Linked DNA regions of Homo sapiens: region 1 is linked to region 2. Evidence: promoter capture Hi-C in human tissues and cell types (Jung and others, 2019). All regions are on one chromosome and are shown on one strand. The core of a region is centred on a gene start or on the middle of the fragment in contact, and the rest is flanking DNA. Distances in the headings are between cores, read along the strand shown. Region 1 overlaps MIR31HG (MIR31 host gene). Region 2 holds the start of IFNA5 (interferon alpha 5).

Region 1 (2,700 bases), core at 84-2,583, 220 kb after region 2:
TTAGAGCTTCCTTGAGAAGCTCTTGTAAGGCAGGTTGGGAGGTAATGAATTCCATCAGCATTTGCTTGATTGGAAAGGATCTTATTTCTCCTTTGCTTATGAAGACTCGTTTGACAAGATATGAAATTCTGGGTTAGAATTTTTTTAGGAATGTTGAATATTGGTCCCCAATCTCTTTTGGTTTGTAGGGTTTCTGCTGAGAGATCTGCTCTTAGTGTGATAGGCTTCCCTATGTAGGTGACCTGACCTTTCTTTCTAGCTGCCTTTAACATTTGCTCTTTCATTTTGACCTTGGAGAATCTGATAATTATGTGTCTTGGGGATGATCTTCTTGTGAAGTACCTTACTAGGGTTCTCTGCACTTCCTGAATTTGAATGTTGGCTTCCCTACCTAGGTTGGAAGTGTTTCCATGGATGATATCCTGAAATACATTTTACAAGTTGCTCATACTCTCCTCATCTCTTTCCAATCAGGGACATCAATGGGTCACAGATTTGGTCTCTTTACAGAACTCCATATTTTTCAGAGGTTTTGTTCATTCATTTCCATTCTTTATTCTCTATTCTTGTCTGACTGTCTTATTTCAGAAAGCCAGTCTTCAAGCTCTGATTCTTTCCTCCTCTTGTTCTGCTCTGCTATTAATAATTGTGACTGCACCATGAAATTCTTGTAGTGTGTTTTTCAGCTCTATTAGGGTGGTTATGTTCTTTTCTACACTGGCCATTGTGTCTGTCAGCTCCTGCACTGTTTTACTGTGATTCTTAGCTTCCTTGGATTGGGTTTCAATGTGCCCTGAAGCCCAGTGATCTTTGTTCCTATCCATATTTTGAATTTTATTTCTGTCATTTCAGCTATCTCAGCCCAGTTCAGAACACTTGCAGTTGTTTATAGGAAAGAAGGTACTCTGGCTTTTGAGTTGTCAGTGCTCTTCTGCTGGTTCTTTCTCATTTTTATGAGCTGGTGCTTCTTCAATCTTTGAAGTTGCTGACTGTTGGATGTTTTTATTTTCCTTTTATCTTACTTGATGACCTTGAGAGTTTGTGGTATAAGGTGGATTTAGTCTACTGGTTTGTTTCTGGAAGGTTTTAGGGGGCCAACACTCAGCTCCCAACCTCAGGACTGTGTGCTCATAGTGCAGTGGCAGCAGCATTCTTCCTCATTTGCATATGCCAGCAGCAGTGACAGCGCAGCAGGGTACATGCTCATCAGCTGTGACAGGGTACCAGTGGGTTACTGGGTGCCTGCCTCCGTGCAGGTGTTCACCACAGTGGTGGAGACAGCAGGGTTCCAGAGGTTGGGGACCCCTGCTGGTGATTATTACACATGATTGTGCTGTCTTGGGGATGCATAGGGGCAGGGTGCTGGTGGGTACAGGTCTGTATGCATTCTCTGTGAACTGCATGAAGGGGTGGTTTCTCAGGGTAGGGGAGGGTCTGCTGTTCTCTGTGCCTAGTTTCACTTCTGTGTCAGTGTTGGTGCAAGGATGTGGTGCTAGTGGGAGTGGGGCTGATTTTCCATGGGTCCACCAACACTCTGACTGCAATGGTGGTCTGGCAGGGGAAGAAAGAGCAGAGTGCAACCCCACTGCGGCAGTGGCAGAGGAGGGTGCACGCACACAGGCACACTGACAGAACAAAGGTGGCAAAACCTGCTCCCATACACACGTGCTGGCAAAGCAATGTGGGAGGTTGCTTTGGGCCCTGGGGAAGTGGCTGTGCGGGGAGGGTGTGGGTGGGCTGGTGTGTGGCTGTGGGGGTTGCTCTGCTGGAGCTCTCCACTAGTCAGGCAGGGTCCACCAGTGCAGAAGCTATGATGTGGGCCCCCAGGGTACCCGAGGCTGCCCTGCAAGTAGGTGTGGCCAGGCTGGGACCTAGGAGAGGCCAGCACACCAAGTGGTGCTCAGATCAGACTGGCGCCATATGGTGGGTAAGACCACCCTGCAGAGTTCAGGTCCAACAGTTCCCCTAGGGCTAAGGTCTCCTATGGGAGCAAGTCGAGCCTAGGGAGATGGGCTTCCCTGGCAGTGCTCTACTACAGACACTCCCACACCAAGAGCTCTGGGCTCCACTTCAGCTGGCATGAGGCTCCTACCACTTCTCTAAGCAGCCAGAGGCCCGTGGTGAAAGTGGCTTGCTCCTTGCCAGTTCAACTCACCAGTTCCCCTGGAGTCTTTAAGGGCCAGGAATGAGTCCCGGTGCATGGTAATCCTGTGCAGAATTCCAAGCTTCCTCCCACTTCAGCCCAGCTTCTGTGTCTTCCTTCCATCTACTCTCGGTGCCTTCCCTCTGAATATCTGTTAGGAGTGTGCGCCAGTGTCTTGGTCCATCAGTGGTAGCTGTTCTTCCTGGGTCCATCTGGTTGGCCATCTTGCTCTCTCCCTGCAATTTCTTAACTAAAACAGCATTAATCAACTCTCCTTTAAAGAAATAGCATGGGATGCCATTTAGCATTTTGCCCATAGTAAGATTTCCTTCAAAACTGGAGTCAATCTTCTCAAACACTGCAACTGCTTTATCAACTAAGTTTATGGAATATTCTAAATCCTTTATTGTCATTCCAACAATATTCACGGCATCTTCACAAGGAGTTGTTCCACCTCAAGAAACCACTTTCTTGATCACCTATAAGAATCAACTCCTTATCTATTAAAGTTTTATTATACGACTGCAGCAATTCAGTCACATCTTCAGGCTCCACTT
Region 2 (2,700 bases), core at 19-2,518:
CCTAGCTCACATTATAGCATTTAACATAACTCATATTAATCATAATTATTGTTGTTAAATTTCTGGCAAAAATCAAAGATACAAGGGAACAGGAATTGTATTTATTATGTTCACTTAAGAAAAATCTTCCTTTACTTAAAATTTGAATAAAATAATGATAGGTAACTGAACTGTACCATCTGTTTTTAATCAAGTTATACAATCAGGCTTGGAGTTTCATTTTAAAGAATAAACAAACAATTAATAGTAAAAATCTAATGAACAAAGCAAAATAATCAGTTGACAAAACATAAAGAACATATTTTATTATATTAGCCACAAAGTAAAGGTGGATGTAATATTACCTGAACAAACATAATTTAAAATAATTTAAATCTTATAAATAAATAAATATTTAAATAGATTAGATAGAAGACAGACAGATAGATAAATAGATAGAATAGATAGATTGGCATGATCATCTGTAAAGATTTTGTCCCTGTGGAGCTAAAGAAGTGTTGCTTAACACGTGTGAAACGTTTGAAAATTTTGATTCAACTCAAGTCATGGATATAGCAGAAATTAATATTTGAAACGGCAGAACTCAAGAAGTGTGAAATGGTGTACTAGTCAATGAGAATCATTTCGATGTTGAACCAGTTTTCATTCCTTCCTCCTTAATCTTTCTTGCAAGTTTGCTGATAAAGAGAAGGATCTCATGATTTCTGCTCTGACAACCTCCCATGCACAAGGGCTGTATTTCTTCTCTGTCAGATAGAGGGTGATTCTTTGAAAGTATTTTCTCACAGTCAGGATAGAGTCCACATTCATCAGAGGAGTGTCTTCCACTCCAACCTCCTGCATCATACAGGCTTCCAGGTCATTCAGCTGCTGGTAAAGTTCAGTGTAGAATTTGTCTAGAAGTGTCTCATCCCAAGTAGCAGATGAGTCCTTTGTGCTGAAGAGATTGAAGGTCTGCTGGATCATCTCATGGAGGACAGAGATGGCTTGAGCCTTCTGGAACTGGTTGCCATCAAACTCCTCCTGAGGAAATCCAAAGTCATGTCTGTCCTTCAGGCAGGAGAAAGGAGAGATTCTTCCCATTTGTGCCATTATCATCAAAGTCCTCCTGTTACTCAGGCTGTGGGTCTGAGGCAGATCACAGCCCAGAGAACAGATTGACTTGCAGTTGAGCACCACCAGGGCCATCAGTAAAACAAAGGGCAAGGCCATTGGGGAGGTTGCAGATGCTTCTGGGCTGTTGAGATTGAGTGACCCTGAACCTTGGGCTCTTCTCTGAAGACCTTGTTTTGTGCACAGATCTTAAAAAGGTCACATACGAGTTTCCATTTTCTGAATGCCTTGTGTTACTTTCTACTTCTCTTTTTGCTTTCTTTTATGCTCTTTCTACATAGATGTACAGGAGTGTTTCTCAGTTTATTTATTTTTACATTATTACCTCATCTTCCTCTGCCACATATGCTTTTTAGAAATTTTTTTTCTAACTAAAAATCCCATTAAATTTTAATAACACAGATATACTATGTGTTGGCTGATGTATATACATTACAGTACCCATTATCGAGAGAGAATATTGTACTTCTTTAATGCTTTAAAAGCAGCGTAATAGAATGTAAAATAGAATTTATTCAGTCCCGGATTAAGAATGAGCAAATGAAAATTCTAAGGTAAAAGTTAATAATTAAATTTACAATTTATGGATATTTAACTTCATAGTTCAATTTGTTTAAGTAACAATGTGATTTATTTACTTATATAAATTGTAGTGTGTCAGATTAAATAAGTAAATTAACAAATTATGAAAATATATAATATTGCCTAGTATAATGAAATATTTAAAAATTCAAAATAGCTAAAGACTATTAAAATTGAAATTATTTGTAACATTTATTTTTAGGGTACTTTCAATTTTGCTTCATAGGGAAATTTAAAAAATTCACTAGCTTCTAGATATTGATCTAGATATTGTCAAAAACCTTTTTCTCTTCAGTGCTTGACATAATTATTGATGTGTTGAACAACTTTAGTAGAATTAAATAGTAAAAGATAAAGTATTTTTATTGAAACCTCAAAACTCAAAACACAGTCATAAATGCTCAGGATCAAATATAAGCAACATACACAAGACAGCAAATGACAGCTCATATGTATACAGAGGCCACCTCACATGATATGACTTTGACATCTAATAAATCTTGGAAAGTCCTCCAATAACAGCCACCCATTTGCCATATGCTTGTAGCACTGATCTTGTATACCTTTTGTGTATCTTCCATGAACTCAAGGTCAATGCTTCTGATGTTACAAGAAAACCAAATTAGGCCAGGCGCGGTGGCTCACATCTGTAATCCCAGCACTTTGGGAGGCTGAGGTGGGTGGATTACAAGGTCAGGAGATCAAGACCCTCCTGGACAACATGGTGAAAGCCCGTCTCTACTAAAAATACAAAAATTAGCTGGGCGTGGTGGCACGTGCCTGTAATCCCAGCTACTCGGGAGGCTGAGGCAGGAGAATTGCTTGAACCAGGGAGTCGGAGGTTGCAGTGAGCCGAGACCACCCCACTGCACTCCAGCCTGGCAACAGAGCGAGACTCCGCCTCAAAAAGCAAGCAAACAAACAAACAACAACAACAAGAACTCAATTAAAAAAATACTAAGGAATAAAGTTTTGTCAGACAGAGTTGAACTTTAGAGGGCCCCA

What was found. Contacts are between HindIII fragments. The study calls those that stand out against the background at their distance.
Region 1: a contact is called between a fragment that was not itself captured here and the fragment with the promoter of IFNA5 in region 2, in 1 of the 25 tissues and cell types used here (lymphoblastoid cells).

The regions. Positions count from the first base shown.
Region 1 is chr9:21,526,539-21,529,238 of GRCh38, forward strand. The region is part of intron 1 of MIR31HG (MIR31 host gene); the gene reads right to left. Among named protein-coding and RNA genes, the nearest start is that of MIR31, 16 kb to the left of the region's middle. The HindIII fragment of the contact is 3,478 bases long and covers 1-2,700 here.
Region 2 is chr9:21,304,045-21,306,744 of GRCh38, forward strand. It overlaps IFNA5 (interferon alpha 5), which reads right to left and starts at 1,269. Exons shown (of 1, transcript NM_002169.3): 1 at 282-1,269. The coding sequence starts at 1,212. The coding sequence ends at 643. The region is part of intron 2 of LOC107987053 (a long non-coding RNA gene); the gene reads left to right. The HindIII fragment of the contact is 6,884 bases long and covers 1-2,700 here.